Linked DNA regions of Homo sapiens: region 1 is linked to region 2. The links are contacts of gene promoters, found by promoter capture Hi-C in human tissues and cell types (Jung and others, 2019). All regions are on one chromosome and are shown on one strand. The core of a region is centred on a gene start or on the middle of the fragment in contact, and the rest is flanking DNA. Distances in the headings are between cores, read along the strand shown.

Evidence for each region. Contacts are between HindIII fragments. The study calls those that stand out against the background at their distance.
Region 1: a contact is called between a fragment that was not itself captured here and the fragment with the promoter of BHLHE22 in region 2, in 1 of the 25 tissues and cell types used here (lymphoblastoid cells).

What each region holds. Positions count from the first base shown.
Region 1 is chr8:64,734,272-64,741,399 of GRCh38, reverse strand. The region is part of intron 1 of CYP7B1 (cytochrome P450 family 7 subfamily B member 1); the gene reads left to right. Among named protein-coding and RNA genes, the nearest start is that of CYP7B1, 61 kb to the left of the region's middle. The HindIII fragment of the contact is 4,869 bases long and covers 1,973-6,841 here.
Region 2 is chr8:64,578,085-64,585,555 of GRCh38, reverse strand. It overlaps BHLHE22 (basic helix-loop-helix family member e22), which reads right to left and starts at 5,191. Exons shown (of 1, transcript NM_152414.5): 1 at 1,929-5,191. The coding sequence starts at 4,765. The coding sequence ends at 3,620. LOC124900252 reads left to right here and starts at 5,544. Exons shown (of 2, transcript XM_047422518.1): 1 at 5,544-7,471. The coding sequence starts at 7,387. It overlaps BHLHE22-AS1 (BHLHE22 antisense RNA 1), which reads left to right and starts at 3,664. Exons shown (of 2, transcript NR_152770.1): 1 at 3,664-3,838. RefSeq lists an enhancer at 4,324-4,403. The HindIII fragment of the contact is 20,885 bases long and covers 1-7,471 here.

The DNA.
Region 1 (7,128 bases), core at 3,158-5,657, 160 kb before region 2:
TGCAGTGAGCCGAGATCGCGCCATTACACTCCAACCTGGGCAACAAGAGCAAAACTGTCTCAAAAAAAAAAATGTTCAAATCTCTGTGATTTCCACATAGAAGAATCATGTTATGCGCAAAGAAAATTTTATTTCTTCCTCCTTCACTGTATCTTCCAGTCTGTACACCTTTTATTTTATTTTCTGGTTTTTCTTTATTTTATAAAGCTAGCTAGAATTTTCAGTAAGGTGTTGTATGGGAGTAGTGAAGGGGACATTCTTTCCTTAATCTCTAACTTAGGGAAAGAGCATCCAGTTTTTCACTATTAAATATTATGTTAAATTTTGTTTGCATCCTCAATAAAACCACATTGGTCTGTCACTCTCTCTTGTAATGGCTTTATCTGGTTTTGCTATTAGAGTGATGCTGGCCTCATACGATGAGTTAGGAAGTGTTCTGGAAGAAATGATACAGAATTGGTATTATTTTGTCCTTAAATGATTGAAAAAATTTGCCATTTATATCATCTGGTCCTGGTGCTTTCTTTTTGGGAGATTATTAGTTAGGAACTGGATTTTTTTTGATAGATATAGGCCTATTCAAAAGATATATTCCTCCTTTTATGAGTTTTGGTAGTTCATGTCTTTTAAGGAATTGGCCCGTTTCAACTAAGTTGTGAAATTTGTGGGCATAGAGTTTTTCATAATATTCCTATATGAATCTTTTAACATTCATTGGATCTATAGTGATTACCCCTCTTTCATTTCTAATATTGGCAAGTTATATCTTCTCTGTTTTTTTTTTCTTTTCTTGTTAGCCTGGCTAGAGATTTATCAAATTTATTGATATTTTCAAACAGTCACCTTTGGTTTTGTTGATTTTCTCTATTTTTTTCCTAATTGTAATTTTATTTGTCTTTTATAAGGTATACTATTTCATTTCTTCTGCTTGCTTTATGCTTAAGTTGCTCATTTCTATAATTTCTTGAGTTGAATGCTAAATTATTGATTATAGATCTTCTTTTATAATTTATGCAGTTATATCATAAACATAATATGTAAATATATATATTATTGACTGATGTACTTCCTTGACCCATGTTTTATTTAGGAATTTGTTGTTTAATTCGCAAATATGTGGAGATTTTTCAGCTTTTATTCAATTTTTGATTTCTAGCTTAATTTGACTGTGGTCTGAGAAAACACTTTGTATAATCTCTTAAATTTGTTAAGGTGTGACTTACAGCCCAGGATGTGGTCTGTCTTGTTAAGTGTTCTCTGTAAGCTTGAGAGGAATGTTTATTTTACGGGTTTTTCTTCTCCAGTGTTCTTCCTCTCTATATAGATCCATGTTTTGTTTTGTTTAATCTATATCATTTTTCTTCTCCCTAAAGAAGTTCTTTTAACATTTCTTGCAGGGTAGGTTGTCTAGTGATGAATTCCCTGTTTTTGTCTGAAAAAGGTCTCTATATATCTCTTTCAGTTTTGAAGGATAATTTTGGTGGATATCAAATTTTAAGTTGATTTTTTTCCTTTCAACACTTTAAATATTTCAATCCACTCTTCTTTCTTGAATGAAAAGAAGTCTACCATAATTCTTATCCTCTTCTGGTTTCTTTCAAGATTTTCTCTAATCTATTTGTTTTTTAGTTTGAATATGATATGTCAAGATGTGAATATTCAGGAGAACCACTTGGTGCTCTTTGAATTTTCTGTGTATGTTATTTCATGTCTGTCATTAATTTGGAAAATTCGAAGGCATTATTACATCAAATATTTCTTCCATTTTGATCTCTCTTTTCTTCTAGTATTCTAATGATACATCTGTTACACATTTTGAAATTGTCCCACAATTCTTTCATGGCCTATTCTGTTTTCTTCATTCTTTGAGGTAAACAGACATTTTAGTTAGAGAATTTATTGAAGTCTTGCTAGGTGTTAGGCTGTGTTTAATGTTTGATGTAGTGGTAGGTGCCAGGGGCCTCAACTTCCTCTAGTGTTCTCGTTTTTGTCTCCACTTTTGTCCTTGAGCTTCGCTAGGAATTCTTCCTTAAATAGAGTCTATGTGTTTTCTACTCTTCCCAGTAAACTACCATTATACCAGAGTCCTGCTAATATAGTGGTAAGGCATGGGAGAGGAAAAGCATTCCATAATCTTATGATTAAATCTCAGTCTTTTAGGGGGCCTGTATTCCTGGGCTGTGACCTTCACCAATGTTTCTTAGCTTCCCTCAATTCCCTTAGGTGAGACAGAAAAGCTAGAGAAAGTCCACTAGGAGAAATGCCCTGTGCCTGGGGCGGGGGTAAGGCTCTGGTAAAATCTTTCCCCTGGAGACTAAGCCTTTGTTATAGAAAATGCTCTGAATATTTCACAAATACTCTTTCCCTCTGCCTGCCAGAGACAGAAGGGAATCTGTTTTAGCTCTTCTCTGTGAGAACATGGCAGGGTTCCTGGAGGTAAAACCCATAAAAGTGTTGGGGAGCCCAAGACTATGGCTCCCAGGAGTTTCTCACTGTTAATACTAGTCCACACTCACCCCCCAGGAATTTGTCAAAATTACCATTTAAGTGTTTCCTACCAGTTTATGACTCCAGTGGCTTCTGTTTCAGGTAAACTGATCTTGGCTGTCAACTCTTTGGATTAGCCTGGTTCTCCAGATTTTGGGGTGGCAGTTTGCCCTGCAAGCTCAGTTCTCTGAAGCTTCCAAGAAAAATTGTTGATTTTTAGTTCATTTAGCTTTTCTTTTTGTACAGACGTAAGTGATGACTTCCCAGCTCTTTACATATTGGAGCTGAAACCAGAAGTTTAGTTAGTATCTTGATTAGAAAAGGAACCCAAATTATGTTTTATATGCGTGTGTGTGTGTGTGTGCGTGTGTGTGTGTTTTCTTGTATTATATTCTATCCTGATAAAATTAGGGAGAAAACAGTTTCTTTTAAATCAGTGATCAAACACTGAAAAGAGAACAATGATCTGATTTGCCAACGATTCTGTGAACATAGCTTCTTATAGGAAAATGCTGCTGAGCTAGTAGTTTCTTTGAGAAGATTTTTTTTTCTTTCTTAATAGAGTAGCACATTTAAAGTGTTAGAAATTCAGTTTTTGAAAAAACTTTTCTGGGATTTTTAAGAATGCTAAATATATGGAGTGCTTATTGGTATCTATAAACCAATCACAATCTTTTTTATTTCTAGAGACTTCACAATATAAATTTTTAATTACTCCAGAGTTAGAAAAGTATTTTTACAATTACACATGAGAAGTAAATTCTTTTCTCAGTAGAGGTATGCAGATACTCAGAGAACTTACAGCTTTACTTTTACATATTCAGCTCTAGGTCAGAATAAACCTAGAATATAAAAATTCATATCTGAAAGAGAGTCTCCTTTTCAATGGAAGGTAAGACATACATTTGCACAGACAGACAGGAAAGCAAAAAGACTAACAAACCAGTATCTCTGTTGTCTCTCATCTGAAAAAGGGCAATTCCTGTCTCTACACAAAAGAGATCACCAAATAAGTAGAACATAAAACCAAATTCCCAGTTACTGCTGCCACCAATCGGGAATAACCTGTTGGCTATGCACAAGCAAGAATAAGAACAACATTGGCCAAGAACAAAAACCAAACAAACAAAAACACAAGTCAGAAGAAAAAAAATAGAAAAATTTAGTCAGCAAACCTGAAATTCTGTTGCCTCTTGGAATCCTTTCATTCCAGGATCCAAGAAAAGATGGACTGAGAAGAGGAGCCTAGGAGGTATATTTTCAGGCAATGCAGTTTAATTGACTTCTCAGGCATCTTGGTACTTACAAGGCATAATTTTTGAAAAGTTAAAAATATGATTCTTATACAAATATGGAAAGAACATGCATTAACATTTATTTAACTCTTTAATGAGGGAACTAGCAGGATGAAAAAGCTGGATTATGCTTTACAGATTTTAATGCCAAGCTGAGAGTACTGGATTTGAGCTAGTGCACTTTATCACTTTTAGTTTTGCTATTTGAGATTTTACATGGCCAAAGTGGTCCAAATCTAACAGACTTGCCAATGTAGCTGTTTCTTTTGTTCTCTTTTTTCATTAAAAAGAAAAACAAAACAAGAATTATGTACATTTTTTCTTTATATTGAGGGATAATCTTTAAATGGAGCCAGGCATGGTGGCCCATGCCTGTAGTTCCAATTACTCGGGAGGCTGAGACCAGAGGATTGATTGAGTCCAGGAGTTCAAGGTTGCAGTGAGCTATGATCATATCATTGCACTCTGTCTAGCCTGGGTGACAAAGTGAGACAATATCACACACACAAAATAGATTTTTAAAAATGGACTGATTTAGGATATTTTTCATTCACTATATAATCACTGTACACAGAGAGCTCTAGAAAATGTTTTCTGTCTCATTAATTTATTTGTTAAAACATACTTATTGAGAGTCAGGTATTGTGCCAAGAATATAAGGGTAGAAAAGATAGACATGCCTCTGTCCTTAGAGATTTTACAGTTCAGCCTCAAGTATTACTAGGTAAAAATTTAAAATAACATATCTGTTATAGACAGTAGACAGAATTAGATTAGATTTGAGATATGGATTTGGTAAAATGAAAAGTAACTAAAAGAGAGCAAGAAAATAAAATTTTTGAAACTCCCAGGAATTAAAAAAAAATTCAGCCCAGGTGTGGTGGCTCACACCTGTAATCCCAGCACTTTGGGAGGCTGAGGCGGGAGGATCACGAGGTCAGGAGTTCGAGACCAGCCTGACCAACATGGTGAAACCCCATCTCTACTAAAAATACAAAAATTAGCTGGGTGTGGTGGCAGGCACCTGTAGTCCCAGCTACTTGGGAGGCTAAGGCAGGAGAATTGCTTGAATCCAGGAGGCGGAGGTTGCAGTGAGCCAAGATCATGCCACTGCACTCCAGCCTGGGCAACAGAGCAAAAGTCTGTCTCAAAAAAATAAAATAAATAAAAATTCAGGTTGGGTTAGTTTTTGACTAAAGCGAAGATATTTGTTTGTATTTTCTTGCATTTTTTGTTTCTCTTGCCCAGCCTTCTTTTTCCATTTGATCCATTCGTGTGTCATCTGAACATTCCATAAGAGATGGATGGAGCACTAAGGGAAGAGAAGCATATGTCAGATGATTGCAATGATTTGAATCTAATATTGGTAGAAGAAGTTGAAGAAGTGACTGATTTGGGATTTATATGGGTGTTTTTCTCGTGGAAATGGCAAAATCAAGATCTATATTTTTAGTGACACATTCAAGGTGTGTGTTTATTTCCATAATAGGGATGTAAACACAAAGACTTCCTGATAAATTAATTTATTTTTCTAGATACCTTGATTCTGTAGTGATAATTATTGTTTGATGTTGTCAGAAGATAAAAGGCATTTACTCACCAGGAAGTATATAATACTTAGGGCATGGGTGAAAACATTAAAAATTTATTTTTATTTTTTAATTATGCCTTTAAAAATTTCTTCTTTTAAGCATGCTTTACAACTTATATTAGTATTGTAGGGGAAGAAACATAATTTTACCTTTCTCTCTCGATCAGGCACTGTGGAGACAGATACACTAGAGTCCCTCTGTGAGAATTCTTACCCTTTTCCAGTTTTCCCAGGATCCCATCTGCAGGCTCCACAGCAAATGGGATGTCCCACAGATCCCATTCTCATTGCCAGAATTGTAGGGGAAGAATTATAATTTTCTCTCTACTTTTTGTGAGTTATTTGCTGGGACCTCCCCCTTCCCCGTAACAAAAGACAGATTAATAAGATAAAAACAAATAGAGGCTTATTAACATGTATACCTCATGTATACATGAAAATAAATCTCAAGGAAGGGGTTTTGAGTTCAGATTTAAATATCACCGTCAGCTGAAACAAAGAAACATTTTGGAAAGGTTAGTTATGGAAAGGTGACCAGGAAAAGCACACCTAACAAAGGTAAGTTTTGTTATCCAGATATAAATAGACACCTTCTCTTGTGATTAGTCATCCTTCTCTTCCTGGTACAGAGAGTGGAGACACCCTTAGAAATGGAGATTTCCTTTATAGATATAAATTTTTCTTACAAAAGGGTAACTTCTACTCTGTTTTTGACCCTCTCCTGTGTCTGTGATTTCTCAAAATCAGCTCAAAATAATTCTTATGCCAAAGCGACATATTTTGCAGTGCATATTTTTTCTAGTATAGTATATCCATTTTAGAAAAAATATTGTATATCCATTTTTAAATAAATATATAGATATTGAGGGAACATGCAGTTTTTATAGATCAGGAACTCACTGAGACAAGTTTAGAGAGCAGTGGTCTAGACCAGGGGTCCTCAGTCTCCAGGCCATAGACCCAGTACTGGTCCATGGTCCACCTCCTTAGCTCCACCTCCTCCAGGTCAGTGGCAGAATTAGATTCTCATAGGAGTGACCAATCCCTGGTGCCAAAAAGTTTGGGGATGCTGGTCTAGGGAGCCTATTGTCCTAAAATATTTTCCCCATTCCTTTTTCTTGGTAAAAACCAAATGAGTTATAATAGTGACCAACCTAATTTTCAGGCAACCAGTATACTTATGCTTTTGTTTAAAAAAAAGTTTGTAAAGAAAAGTGTTTATGCTTTCTGTAGTTAAAAGTTATGTTAGCAAATAAAGGGGTGTCTTTACCCAGTAGAACAGTCTAGAGATGCTTAGAACAATCTTCACATGATATATAGGACTACAAATAAACATTTGTTGACCTAGTAGGTTTTAGATACTAGGACTAGGCACTGGGGATCTGCTATGGCTTGCATGTTTATGTCCCCTTCAAAATTCATGTTGAAACTTATAATCACCAATGCAACAGCATTAAGTGGTGTGGCCATTGGGAGGTGATTAAGTCATGAGGATTATGCCATCATGAATGGATTAATGCCTTATGAAAGGGCTTGAGAACCAGGTAGGCCTGGTTTCCCTTTTTGCCCTTCCATCTTTTCTACCATGTGAAGACTCAATATTCAAGGTGCCTTTTAGAAGCAGAGATACCAGACACTGAACCTGCTGTCACCTTGATTTTGGACTTTCCAGCTTCTAGAACTGTGAGAAAATTAATTTCTGTACTTTATAAATTACCCAGTCTCAGGTATTTTGTTAGAGCAGCACTAGTGGAC
Region 2 (7,471 bases), core at 3,942-6,441:
CAATGGTGTGTGGGCTAACTCTTCAGACTAGGCCAAAACTCAGGGCTCAGACCCCAGAAAGAAAGTAGCTCTAGGGCTTTATCAGGAGTGGAAAGTGTTGTCCCTCCAATCACTGGCTTCCTTTTCTTAAAGCTGCTGCTGAAAACCCTTTAGAAAGGTTGGAGTTAGGGCAGGGAGGATCACCTAACTAAACCACAGAAAACTCCTCTCCTGTTTCTTTCAGATGTCCCATGTTAATTGCTAAAACCACAGGCTGGCCAATTCCTAGGTTTGGAAAGAGGGTTGATTTGTCTAAAATTATCAAAATGAAAATAAATGTTAATAAGCCTAATACACTAAATAATTATGCCTATTCATGTGACATTTGAATTTATTCTCAATATCTTCCTATCCCCACCCCCATCCAAGTCTCCTTCAGGACTAAGATTGAAAGCTGAGTGGTTAAAGAGAGGAGGATTCTCATTTCTTTATTTTTTCCCTAAAGTTCAAGATGTGTTCTTCTGTACAATTTTTAATAATAGTTGAACAGTACAAAGGTTGCAAAGGAAGTATTTCAAGAAGGCCTTCTAATAATGAGAAATATTAAGCATTAAATCTTGCAGCAAATGTGTCCCCTACAATGTTAATATGCAAAAGGAAAAAAAAAAATCTGACTGGTGGTGGCTGTGGCTAATTCCTAATCAGAATGATGGACAGCAGGGCCAGAACAATACAAACTAATGGCTGTGTTGCTGATCACTTTACCCCTTGATTAAAGACACCCAATTATGGCGCAGAACAGTGTCGTAATTATGTTTCTTAATCACATCCAGGAGGTTTAATTGCCTTAACGATGTGTTTCATTAAATGAATTTAGGTATTATAGTCGACAGTTTTCATACACAGTTGTTTTCAAATTAACATAATATTAGACATCGTCATGGAAATTGTTTTAATAATCATAATTAGACGCACCCAGGCTTTGTCTGGTAAATGCTGAGAGACAGGTCGGCTCCTGCCTGGGGGCTGCCCTGGTCTCCTCCCTCCTTCTGCCCTCACTCCCAGTCTGGGAGGGCTCCAGCTTCAAGGCCCTTTGCAGTTATGTTTTCTGAAAAGTTACAAGTTCTGATTAATCTTTTTTGATGGCAAGTGGAGTAGAAAATATCCTTCCTCACCCCCCACTAAGTTTGATGGCATTTAGGGATATCTTTATGAGCAGAGGCTGTATAGAAAAAAATGCATTTAGCATACTGGGTACAGAGGAAACATCTAACTTCTGCACCACCACCACTACTATCTCTGCAACCTGTGCCACAGTAAAAAATCACACCTTCTATATTTGAGGGCAATATAAAGGTCAAAATACAAGTCTCGACAGTCATTCTTTAACAGAATCAAAGCCTAAATCCAAACACGGAACCTAAAAATCTCATCATCAAGCAACACTAGTAAAATTCTGATCATCTCTATGGGCATTGTGTATGCTTATATGATTCAAGTTAATTCTTTTTATCACAAAAAAGTAGAAAGTCACAGTGAAATCAGTGCTCAGAGAATCCAAGTCCATTTTTTTTCCTTGCCCTTCACGCATTTGGAGGTAGAAATTTTGATGACAAACTCTTAAGAAACTTTACCCTCTTTGACGGGCCCTGGCATGGTTAACAGTGCCATACAAGTGGAAAAAGATTTCCAGGGAGAATGTGGCCTTCAAAGTTCATGCCAGTAGCCAGAAACTTGGAATCTCTTCTGGGTTTCACCACTGACCCCATTCATCTCTCCTCCTTGTAACAAGTAAACAAGTAAATTAGGGCTACTTCTAATTGTGCATCCCTGCAAAAACTTTAGTTCCACCTTCTCTGAAACTCCTTTCTTTTTTGTTACCTTTCAAGCAAAGAGTAACACAGAAGAGAGGTGATTGCTTCTTCCACAAAGCACAGCATAATAAAATGTTTGATCAAAATATTTTAATAAAGATTCTTTCTGACATAGATACACATACAAATGGTCGTACATAGCTGTCATAGTCTGATTGACCTATTTAATATATATATCATTCTTTACACATCCAAAACCCGCCAACAGATCCATCACAGCTCCCAACTCACCATCCAACCTGACAAACTGAATTTGTATTATCTGCAAGGAGTGGAAAATAGCAGGACTCCATTTTTAAAAAAGATTTTCTTGATTTTCATAGGGCGGAAAGGCAGTCAAACAGCCATGCAAAACTAAAACTGAAAGCTCACTTTGGGTAAATAGCTTCTTGTTCTTCCTTAGTTTTCTTTCTTTTTAAATTTTATTTTTTTAGAAAAATAACAAAGGATTTCACACCATAGGCAAATCAAACCAGTCTTTTAACTTAAATAATTCTCCACAGTTAAAATAACATATATGTACATATATATTAAAAGCAATTAAATTAGACCTTTTAAAAATGCACAGCACAGCCTGGAAAAATATTTGCTTAGCATGTTCTTACGTATAGCAACTATTGCTGTGATGTTTTTCCCTTTTGGAATGTAAAGGAGTCCCCTTTCAAAAAAGAGATCAATTCATTCATCAATTAAGAATACACCTTTCCTGTAATTTTTGGACTGAAGCAATTTATTAAAGCTCAATTTAAATACAGGGATGATGCAACTGAAAATATCCAGGTGACCTTTCATAAACCTAAGCAGCTCAGATACATCAATATTTCTCTTCATACTTGTTGGCAAATAAACCTTTAAACACTTGGCACACAGCATAAGTAATCTATAAAACAATTTTAGAGGCATTAAAAAAATCTGCACATAAGACCCATGACTTTAACACATGATAAATACTGTTGATGTGGAAGGGTCATTGAAGAATAACAAATAAATACCATGAATTGTTAATACATCATTGCAGAGTAGAAAGTAACAAGGTGCACATAAATATTTTTAAATGCAATTCTTTCAGCCACAGTCAGTTTTTTTATATCACTCTCGCCAAAACTTTGAGCATTTTCACAGGATTAAAGTTCAGAGACAATAAAAAATACAAGTCTTTCATAGTAACATGTCTCTCTCTCTCGCTCTCTCTCTCTCTCTGGGTTTTATTTCCCCCTCACTTAAGTCAACATTTCAAGTTTTTCTCCTGGCTCAGAATCAAAATTTATTTTCAAGTGCCCTTTCTGATTTGTCTGAATGAATATTCCATCTCTCATGCTACCCAACCCCTAACCCCTCCTCTCCCCCTCAGCACTAGCCAAATCCACAATTATTAGTAGGATTAGTATTTTGCCATTCAAACACTCTCCAGGCTTAATAACCAAGCACTACTTCTCAACTTATGTTTCACCTTTAAGGAAGATTCCACTTCCTCGCGGTCTAGGCTGCCACCAAAGTTGCCACTTTTCTGAGAAAAAAAAGACATCCATACTCCATCCCAACTCCACCTCCCTCCTCCCTCCCTCCCCACCCCAAAGACCGAGATTCTGGGGATGTCAAGGCTAAAAGTCCCGTTTGTCTCTGATACTTCTCCTCAGTTCTTGCCTCTGCTTTGTTTGCTCTGCAAGTGTTTCACAACTACGAGAGGACCAAAATAAAGGGGGTGGGGAGCAGCTTTTCGCTTTCCTCTAGATTTTGGGTCGGTCTTGTGTTTTTCGGGGGTGTGTTTAAGGCTTCTCCGTGCACTGTTTGCAGAGGCTGGAGGAGACGCTGTTAAACAGGGCGCACTTCTCCGGGCAGGAGGCAGCCGGGGGCAGTCCGGCGCTGAACGGGTAGCCGGCTGCCTGCTCGTAGGCGCCGAGCGCCGGGTGCAGGGCAGCAGCTGCTGCCGCTGCAGCCGCCGAGCTGGGCAGGGAGGCAGCCGAGATGGCCTGGCCCTGGTTGAGGTAGGCGACTAGGCGCCGCATCTCCTCCAGGGCCTGCGCCTGCATGAGGATGTAGTTCTTGGCGAGCAGCAGCGTGGCGATCTTGGAGAGCTTTCGCACCGAGGGGCTGTGCGCGTAGGGGATCACCGCGCGCAGCTCGTCCAGCGCGTCGTTCAGGTCGTGCATCCGCCGGCGCTCTCGGGCATTGATGTTAAGCCGCAGCGCCTTTTGCTCTTTGGATTTCTTGCTGCTGCTGCTGCTGCTGCTGCTGCTGCCGCCGCTGCCGCTACCGCTACCGCCACCGCCGCCACTGCTACCGCTGCTGCTACCCCCGCCGCCGCCGCCGCCCAGGCCCCCCGGGGGGACGCTGGCGCCGCCGTGGAGGTGGGCATTGGAGCAGCCCTCGGCTGCCTTCGCGCCACCACCTCCCGCTCCCGGGGAGGCCCGCGGGTCGGCTACTCCGGCCCGCAGCACGAGCTCGCAGCGACCGTCGCTGTCGTCGTCGGGGCTCTGCTCGCCGCCGCTGCTCTCGGCCACCGAGCCCCGGCTCGCGCTTTCGCCGTACTTGAGGCAAAGGGCGGCCCCGGCCGGCAGGCTGCTTAGGCTAGGGTCGCCCCCAACGCCGGCTGAACCTACTAGCAGCCCGGGGACACCCACCCCGCCGCCGCCGCCGCCGCCACTTCCCGCGCTGCCGCCGCCGCCTCCTCCAGGCGGCGGCAACAGCAGCCCTGCCCCCTCGGGGTCAGCCGGCTCGAAGCAGCCCAGGGGCGACGAGGAGGAGGACGCCGGGCGTTCCCGAGGCGGCGGCGCCAGGGACAGGTCCATGCCCGGGGGCGTGGAGCGGAAAGCCGCTTCCAAGCGCTTGGAGGTGGAGGCGCTCAGGCTCTTGTGCAGGAAGAGGTCGTCCTCGCCGGCGGCCGCTGCACCGAGGTGCATCCCGCGCTCCATGGTCCCGCGCCGGCGCGCAGCCCGGGCCGCCGCGCCCGCTGCCGCCGCCGCCGCCTCGGCCCCGGAGTCAGGCGGCCCCACAGACGCGCGCGAGCTGGGCTCCGGAGCTGGTGCGCGCGTCGGTCCTGGTGCTGCCGGGAGCCCTCTCCCCTTCTTTCTTTTTCTTTTTCGCCTTCCCCCGCGCTCGCCGCCTCCTCTTCTTCTTCTTCTTCGTCTCCAGCCGATGGTGCTGGCTGCTGGGGCTCACCATGGGCCGCGGCCCCGCATGGTGGGAGGGTGGGCGCGGAGGGAGTGGAGCCGCCGCCGCCGCCGCTCTGAGCCCAGCCCCGCGCCTCCTCTCCGCACCGTTTATCTTGCTTGGATTCACCTTCAAGAGATTTCCGGACCCATCAAACAGCCGCCGCCACAGACGGGGGAGTCTTTTACATCATTATCTCTGAGTAGGTTATTATGAAGAAGACTCGCCTGTTGGGACAGCGCTTTCTACCCAATCAGGTTAACGTTTTAATTAATAGGATTAAAACGGTAACAAACAATCGCAGGCGCTATCTGGCCGCAAGTCTGAATAGTTTCATTTCCCAGGTCTGAAGACAGGCAGCAGCTAGAGCTTTATAAAAGGCGCCTGCTCCATTATTCTGCCTGCCATCTGTATACACAGCTTAGCGCATATGTTTGCAAGGCGCTGGGTCCTGTTAGTAACCCAACAACTGCCTTTAGCTTGACATGTGTGGCGACTTTCACTCATCAATGAGCACACTAAAAGCCCTACTTAGAGCCGAGGATGTTCTTTGCTCCTTCAGCAAATTGTAGATCGGCGGCGAAGCCTGGGAGTCCTGTGGAAAGCAGACGCCCCCACCCACCGCACCCCACCCCCCACTGCCCTTCCCTCGCCACTGCTGTCTCAGCTTGTGCTAAATTACCCTTCCGGGCGAGAATTATACTCCACCCCTGTTCGTAGGATGACTGGTCTGGATTTGGGGATGGGACTTTCCGAGAGAAGGTGGTGTCCCAGCTGGCTTGCCCAAAATTCACTCTAGGTTTTCAGCTGGTCAGAGAGCAAAGCAGTCGTCCCCCCGAACACTCTGCCTCGTTTCCACACCCGCCACTGCCCATTTCCTACCCAGATTGGAAAAAAAGAAAGAAAAAAGCAAAATGAAGAGCAAGTGATCATGCAGCCCATTTTTTTTTAAGGTGGGGTGGCAGTGATTTTGCAGTGGTCTCCAAATAACTGTTACAGTGATGGTAATTGTGAAGTACACAATTTCCTAAACAGGAAGAAAACAAACAAACAAACCGGTTTCTCAAACTTTCCTTAAGATGAAAATCTGATTGCTTCAAAAGAGTCAACTTCACCAGGAGTCAAATCCGCTCCCACACGAAGTGAGGCATTTATGCATATTTATTTACCCGGAAGCCATTTAAGGACATCTGGATCAGCCTCGGTTGTTCTTGGAGGGTTCGGGAAGGGAGAATGTAAAAACAAGTGCTCCTCTCCGGATGGGCACTGGTACACGCGGTCATCTCACTCCTGAGTTCGGTCTCTGGGTACACATGGTATTTAGCAGCTGGTTTTCATCCTTATGACATAAGTAAAAACAATATTTCCCAACACCTTCCAATAACTCTTTCTTATATGGCAGAAGTACTGAAGACTATGCAATTTTTGGTTTCTCTGGTTTCATTAAAAACCTTTTAATTGTGGCTTTCGGAGTTGGCCCCAGGTGTTGGACTCTTTTCATTACATTTTGCTCTAATGTGATGAAATTCTAATTCTCTCCTTACCATATGGTTAAATTTCCCCACTGAGAATTAGTTGAAAAAGGAGAAATAATCTATTAATCTCTGTAATAGATTCACAAATGAGGTTCGCCACAGAACCTGTTTTTGAATGGTAATATCAGAACAGTTGGGCACCTTATTTCATAAAGGAAGGGTGAGGGCGACACAAAAATGTCTGTATTTTCACCTGGAAAGGATGAAAGGGGCTCAGCAGTATCTTCCATAATAATTCCCTGAGATCCAGTCTTCCGGGGACAGAAATACTACGTAGACGTCGGTTACCTACGCTCCTTTGGATGTCCTGGAACCTAAAGACTGAGAAAGATCAGGCGGGGCTACGGGAGGCTCTTGTGCCTGGGACCGAGACCGGGGGTTCTGCAGGCTTGAGCGGTCCCACTTGTCTCGTCTGGGACCCCGAGGCTGTTTACATGCAGGGCAGCCCCTCGCTCACCGCACCCCTCCCACCGTCCCTCCCCCGGCGTTCGCAGCTGTTAACCTCTCCCTTTAGAAAGCTAAAGACACGCTAGTGTTATTGTTTTTCAATTAGCAGCTTTGTTTTCACTGGGATCATAAACAAAGGTTCTCTCTAAACATAGGTGGGTCGTGTATGCATGACACTAACTTATCAAAGTCCTTGGGTCACTTTCGGGAGGGCGGAGGCTGGCCCGGTCGTGGCTCTGGGCAGGATGGGGACACATCTCACAATGTCTGACTTAGTTCTCCAGCCAGCTTGCCCTTTTTGTGGGCTGCCACCTTCTGCGGGGCGCCAGGATTCTTGCCGGCCCGAAGTGGACATTTGAAGGGCGAAGGATCGATCATGTCAGGGACTGGTGGGGGGTGCCATGCGGGGCTGTGAGCGGCAGAGCCGGGATGGCAGAGCAGGGGCGACACTGAGGGCGGCAAAGGCCCTGCCAGCTCAGCTAGACC